2 separate regions of the Homo sapiens genome follow, and region 2 is linked to region 1. The links are contacts of gene promoters, found by promoter capture Hi-C in blood cells and fetal thymus (Javierre and others, 2016). All regions are on one chromosome and are shown on one strand. The core of a region is centred on a gene start or on the middle of the fragment in contact, and the rest is flanking DNA. Distances in the headings are between cores, read along the strand shown. Region 1 holds the start of PDCD4-AS1 (PDCD4 antisense RNA 1). Region 2 overlaps ITPRIP (inositol 1,4,5-trisphosphate receptor interacting protein).

Region 1 (3,452 bases), core at 1-2,500:
AGGCCCGGACCTGACAGGACCGCGACCCCCACGCCTCCGCCCCCGCCCCCTCCCATCTTGCGGCTGCCTCCGAGGAGGGATGGGGGAGAGGGCGCAGTCTTCCCGAGCGTGTGAGCCGCGCCTACTGGTACTGACCCCTCGGGCCCCCGCCGCTGCTCGCCCAGGTTCCTGGTCAGCCGGCCCCGACCCCGCTCTTCTGTCTCTGCCGCCGCCTCGGAGAGTCTCTGGCCCTTCTCGCTCTGTTTGTTTTTGTTTTCTTCTACCCAGTAACACGGGGGCGAGAGGGCGGCGCTTATTGGCCGAGGCCGGGTGGTCGGCTGGCCAATCGTGGCGGCGGAGCCGGAGCTGAGGAGGAAAAGGGAGAGGAGTGAAACGTGGAAAGTTGGGGAGGGGCGCGGGAGGGCGCATGCGCATGTGGCTCCTGGGACTGGCTGGAGCGGGAGTTGAGCGGGAAGTCGGGGTGGGGGTATGTTGGGAGGCGTGGCGGGATGGGAGCGTTGGGAAAAGGGCAGTGCTGGGGGATGGGGACGAGGATGAAGCTTCCTCGACCCAGCTCACCCATTCTCCTCACAGGGCGTTCTGCAAACTCGGCTGAAGCAAAGGTTTTGAGCTTCCTGATGGTCCCTGCCTCCATTTCTAGAAACTGCTTAGGCGAACACTCCAAGTGATCAGCCTGTCCGATTCCTCCTCCCTCTGGCCGCTGCTTTCTCTGTGGCTTCCAGTTTCTGGAGATCCCATGCTAAGAAGTTTCTCTCAGCGAATCCCCTCAAACCTTTGAGATGGAAATAATTCCCATTTCACAGATATAAAGCAGGCTCCAAAACTCTTTGAAGTTCCTTTGCTAATCATGACTAGCCAAGCCTCTGGCGTTCAAACGCACAAATTCCGGCCTCCAGTGCTGGGGTTCTCAGCCATGGCTACAATTTCTGTATTGAAACTTCCACCTCCCCTCGCTGTTCTCTGTGACTTTTCCTCTTGGCTGCATTGGTTTTGGCTGGTACTATCCTTACTCTTTCAAGGTCACGGTCCCCTGAGGGTGATAACCAGAACCTTAGGCTTCCTTTGTGTTCCCAGGCGGGGACTTAGCCACTGCCTCTGATCAGATTTTTCAGTTGTCTGATGGGCAGCACCGAATGATTGCTTGTGCTCTCCAGAACCCAACTGCCTCATCCCGCACAGGCCAGCGCTTTCCCTTGGCTGCCCAGTCACCCTGCCTGGGAATCATCTCTAATGCTACTATTTCTCTGCACACACACGCACACACACACACACAAACCTTCACTGGCTTCCCATTGCCTCTCTTGAGTGTCAGCGCCTCGGTCGGTCATTCAAGGCTCCGTGATGTGACTTCAAGACTTTCAGGCTGTGTCTCCACACATCTCCCCATATGCTTCCTCACCCCCTGGTAGTTCTTTATATATCACCTTGAAATGTCTCTCTTCTCATCTCCTATCTCCGCCTGATGCAATCCTTCTGTGCCTCATGGCCCTTCCTGGTAGTTTTTTATTTTGTTGTTGTTGTTGTTTTATTTAATTGAGGCAGGGGCTTGCCCTTTAGCCCAGGAGAATGCAGTGGCATGATCACAGCTCACTGCTGCCTCGACCTCCGTCAGCCTCCCTAGCTCAACGATCCTCTCACCTCAGCCTCCTGAGTAACTGGGACTACAGGCACAGCTCACTATGCCCAGCTAATTTTTGTATTTTCTGTACACACAGGGTTTCATCATGTTGTCCAGGCTGGTCTTGAACTCCTGGGCTCAAGCAATCAGCCCACCTCTGCCTCCCAAAGCGTTGAGATTACAAGCGTGAGCCACCATTCCTGGACCCTCGTAGTTTTTCTGGAGCCTCGTGATTTGATATGATCTTCCTGCCGCTGATTCCTCACAGTGTTGGCTTGCCACACCTCCAGGGGCACTGATCACATTCTACCTGGCATTATTTCATCTGAGTCCCTGTCCTAGCCCTTCTGCCCATTAGACTGTAACCTTGTTTAGGGAAAGACCTGTGTCTTACTCATCTGTGATTTTGTTGTTGTTGTTGTTTTGAGACAGGGTCTTGCCCTGTTGCCCAGGCTGGAGAGCAGTGGTGCAATCTTGGCTCACTGCAGCCTCAACCTGTTGGGGTCAAGCCATCCTCCCACCTCAGCTTTCCAAGTAGCTGAGACTACAGGCCTGTGCCACCACACCCAGCTAGTTTTTTGTATTTTTAGTAGAGATGGGGTTTTGCCATGTTGCCCAGGCTTCTCTTGAACTCCTGAGCTCAAGGGATCTGCCTGCCTCGGCCTCCCAAAGTGCTGGGATTACAGGCGTGAGCCACTGTGCCTGACCCACTCACCTGTCATTGTAGTACTTAAGATGCCTTGTTCATTTATTGTGCCTGTGCAATAAATACACCTTGATTTGAGTTTACAAAGATTCTCAGCAGTTGGTGGTCATCCTCATCTCCTGGGCGGGGGCCTCCTGGTGTGGCCAGTATCTGAATTAGTCTCATAACTCATGTTCACTTTTTAAAATCGGAGCTTCCCAGACCTCAGTTTTGTTTTGTTATTTTCCATTATCTGCAGCTGTCTCCTTTCCCCTCTCTCACCTATACTCTACTGATCAGTGACTGCTGGCTCCTTTGTTACCCATCCTTCTCTTTCTCCACATTTTTTCTCTTCTCATCCCTTTCAGTTCTGGACTGTTTCCTTCTTCCTCCCTGTCTTTCATTTAGTCATTCATTGAATGTACTTACTAAGCACATATAGCATAATCAGGCTGTGTTGGGTAGGCATCCCGAGTTCTATGAGATAAAGAAAGAATGGGATATGATTACCAATTTTAAGAAGCATCTAAAACAACCTGTTATGTTTTAGCAAATTGCCCCCAAAGGACCCATTAGGGAGGAAAACGTTCATGTCCTTTTTGCGTATCATCTCAAGCAGTACCCATGATGGCTGGGATCCCAGAACCCACCTTTGAGAATGCTGCCGTATTTGCGTGTGGTTGACAAGGTTGGGCCAGACACTCAGGAAATAGGGTTGTCGTCCTACCTCCCCCACTAACTTCCTGTAAGAACTTCAGCCCCTCTCAGGACCTTTTTCTTTACCAATAAAATTCAGAAATTGGGCTCAATCAGTAATTCCCAAGTTATTTTCCAAAGAACATGAATTTTGTGGAACTTTAATAGATATCATGCAAAAAAAAATGTGGGAGGGATTGTTCCATGGTCAAATGGTCTTGGAAATAACTCGTTTAAACAAAAATAAAACTGTTTCTTTACCCACAACTCTTCTCAGTGGTTTTTTGTTTGTTTGTTTGTTTTTTGAGATGAAGTTTTGCTCTTGTCGCCCAGTTTGGAGTGTAATGGCACTATTTTGACTCACTGCAACCTGTGCCTCCTGGATTCAAGTGATTCTCCTGCCTCAGCCTCCCCAGTAACTGGGATTATAGGCGCCTGCCACCACGCCTGGCT
Region 2 (3,452 bases), core at 683-3,182, 6.5 Mb after region 1:
CTGCCAAATGTCAGCACAGGAGACGAAAGAGGCAGGAAAGGGAGGACTCCCTGCCCTGAAGAAAGATGAAAAACTAGATGATATAGTAGGTGTCTCTGTAGAGGTTTCAGGAATCGCCTTGTCCTTCCACTTGAAGGCACCTGATTAAAGTTTTTGTTTTGTGCAACTAGGCATAACTTCAGGTGCTTTTCTGATGTCCAGCATTTCGGTGGCTAAAGTCATTGCCCTAATTCTTGTATGCACCTAGCTTTTTCAGGTTTATAAATAAAAATTAGAGTATCATTAATCTGCAGAATCCACCGTTATGGATATGACATTGTTCATATAAGTAGAATGGCCTTATTAAAAAAAAATAGTGGCTTCATTTACTGAGCAAAGCCCCATTCTAGGGGTTTACACATATTTATTTCTCCTCCTCACAATGGCCCTTCAAGGTGGGTGTTATCCTAGTTTTACAGGTGAAAGAACAGACTCAGAGGGACTTGCCCCAAACGGACAACAACAGAGAAGAGATTCGAATTTAGATTTGCTCTCTCCCAGGGCCTTGGACTCTTTCTGCCACCTCAGGCGTCTGTCTGGACACTGTAGCCCAGAACACATACAGATGGCATAAAGAATCCCACAAAGTTTTAAGTGTCAATACTGAGAAAACAGCAAGCAGACCACCAACTCCAGGCCTGAGACTTCTGGTCCCTTCCTGCTGTCTCACTCTGATATTAGCAGACCTAGTGAGCTTTGGAGACTCCTTCTGCCAAGAGATTCTGTGAGTGTGGCCTGAGCTATCTGAGGGTGAAAGGAAGGAAAGGCTTTCCCTTCCAGCACTGTTTGCTTTTCTGTTTAATAGGCACAGTAACAACCAGTTCCTGATAATATTCAGAGCACTTTGCAGTCCTCTGCTGGAAGTCCCTAGGAAAAATACAAAGCCCCGCAATTATCAAATGACTCACTTCCAGGTGCATAACACAGTGGGACACTCACTGCCTGGGAAGAGGGGCTCAGCTTGGAAGCAACCCTGGGCTGCTACTGCTTTCTCTCCCTTCTAGGTCATTTCCCTGAAGCTGATGCAGGAGTCCCCCCAACTCTCGCCCCCTCCTCCTGTATCAAAGCAGCAGGGAAGGTGTTGTCATTATTTTGGCCCTGCCCGCTAGTGCAAAACCATGTGCTCATAACATACTGTTCTCATGGGAGCCGGCTTCAATAGCCTCTTAGCAGCAGCCGGGGGACCCGCCTGAAGTTTACGAACGCGTCCTTTGTTTGCTGAGACTTTGTTCCAAAGTTCCCAAGGAGGCAGGGGTGCAGCATGCCTGGGCTGGAGGGTAGGAGAGCAGGGGCTGCCTGGGTCCTACCCCTGTGTGCTGCCCCAAAATGTCCCTAATGTACCCATGCCGCTTCCTGACATTTCACCCCAACACATGCCTACCTGCCAGTGTCAAGAGAGCCCTCACTCCCTTTTTTGCAGAGAAGGCTTTCCATTCCTTTTATCTCAAATAGCCCAGGCCACACTCACAGAATCTTGGTAGAAGGAGTCTCATAAGTTCATTAGGTTTTACTCCCTGCTTCATGCCCACATTTCATCTAGATTGTCACCTACCCTTCCCTAAACAGTCCGGGTGAGGAAAGTCCATAGGTACATGTCTAATGTTTCACAGATACCAGGTCACTGAGCAGCACAGCTCGTGGCTTCATGGGAAGAGTATAGGCTTGAAAGTCAGATAGGTTTGGATTCAGATCCTGGCTCTATGATGTTGGTGAGTGGCCTCACCTCTGTGCCTCAGTTGCCTTATCTGTAAAATGGAGATAAGTGCCTGCCTCAGAGGTTTGATGTGAGAATGATACATGTAAAGCTTTATTGTGCAATGCTTAAGCCTCAATAAATGGGATGCAGTGGTTGTAATTCATTAAACCCTCCCATGGTGTGTCAGGGCCCTGAGGCTTGTCCAGTTTTTTCCTGAAAGAAGAATTACTTCTCTGCTCCTTCTCTTACTCTGTAATCCTCTGTTTATTTCTACAAGAAGCTTGAGCAAGAAGGGAGGTGTCCACGGCAAGGCAGCTGAGGGTCAGAAAACGTGTCAGGGTTCATTCCTGGGCCATTTTCTAAACGTTGGCAGTGAGTCTGCCTGCAGTTACATGAAGGCCAGTCCAGACCAAACGGGGCTGCAACCGTCTCTGTCTCCAGGGCTACGTCTGGAAGGGATTTTGCTGGAAGGGATTTTCCAAGGCACTTACACTGTTAGCACTTTGTTTTTCTGACTGCAGTGCCCCTCCCAGGAAGAAAGAATGTAGAAGTTACTTTATCCAGAGCTTTCCACTTCACTCCAGGAATTTCAAATTCCTGCTCCTGGGAGTAAAGGCAGTGAGGTTCTTTTCCCAATCCTAACTCCATTCATGTATTCAGCAAGCATTCATTATAGCAACTACCCTCTTCCAAAGCTGGGTACTCAGAACCTAATGGAAGAGCTGTCAGTGTCAATGATGCCAGATTGGAGGGAGTAAGGGAGGGTGCTGCTGACCTTCCTAGGTCTCCAAACTTCCTCCTCTTCCTCTGTGTCAGCCCCTGGGGCCTTTAGAAGAAGACAAGGAGGTGGAGGAGACAACTTAGTCATACTCCCCAGGCTTCTGGAGGAGCTGCAGGGATGTTGTTCACCCACTTCTTCCCAGAGGACTCCTTAACATGCAACCATGACGATTTAACAAATCAAAAAGGAGACATGACCGCAGCACCAGTACCAGTGCCAACAGCAGTATCATTTACCAAGCACTGCCGAGTGACTGTGAGATGGTCCACAAGGCCATAAATTGGACACTATTGCCATAGCAAGTTGTAGAGCCAAGATTCAAACCCAGGCCTTCTGATTCCAGAGTTTGACTCCTTAGCAATGGTTCTCTAAGCCTCTGCAAACTGTTAAGCTCTTCTTAGCTGATGAGCTTTGGGCTGTTTCTTTCTCGGTGACAGTAGGAGTGGAAATGAGCCTGTGTGAACTTGACACTATCAGTGGCTGCTTGCTGCCCACCTCAGTCTGACTGACGCACATATGAGTCATGGGTCCATGCATTCAGCAGGCATTATTTGGACACCTACTGGGTGCCAGCACAGCCTCGGTGGAGCACCCGCATCACACCTTATTGCTCCGTCCCTGTGACTAGAAAATGATGTCATAGTAGGGTTGTTTTGTGCAATCCGTAGAGAGTGTGACTCTGAGTAGTCATAGGTACTTCTGGGAGCAATTTTGCTAACTGTTCCTAGCCTTACCATGTGGGCCCTCTGCTCTCCAGAGAGGAGGAGGACTGGTTTGCTCTGACTAACTGGTGTGGGAGGGCTGGCAGAGGCCCGGCTCTATTGTTCAGCCCAGATCCTTGCAGCAGAGCACAAGCAAAGACGCTCTTAATTTTTTTTACAGCTGGGCTGGCCTCCCCTTTGTCTTTGTGTCTGTTACTGTTCCCCTTTATTGAGA

Evidence for each region. The method cuts DNA at HindIII sites, captures the fragments that hold promoters and counts their contacts. A CHiCAGO score of 5 or more calls a contact.
Region 2: a contact is called between a fragment that was not itself captured here and the fragment with the promoter of PDCD4-AS1 in region 1, in 1 of 17 cell types (naive CD8 T cells). The highest score is 5.0, in naive CD8 T cells.

The regions. Positions count from the first base shown.
Region 1 is chr10:110,868,702-110,872,153 of GRCh38, reverse strand. PDCD4-AS1 (PDCD4 antisense RNA 1) reads left to right here and starts at 1,250. Exons shown (of 1, transcript NR_026932.1): 1 at 1,250-3,264. It overlaps PDCD4 (programmed cell death 4), which reads right to left and starts at 226. Exons shown (of 12, transcript NM_014456.5): 1 at 136-226. RefSeq lists silencers at 1-33, 64-113 and an enhancer at 1,118-1,728. The HindIII fragment of the contact is 8,654 bases long and covers 542-3,452 here.
Region 2 is chr10:104,329,124-104,332,575 of GRCh38, reverse strand. The region is part of intron 1 of ITPRIP (inositol 1,4,5-trisphosphate receptor interacting protein); the gene reads left to right. Among named protein-coding and RNA genes, the nearest start is that of ITPRIP-AS1, 7.5 kb to the right of the region's middle. RefSeq lists silencers at 831-1,125, 3,150-3,199 and enhancers at 1,086-1,731, 1,732-2,377. The HindIII fragment of the contact is 171 bases long and covers 1,847-2,017 here.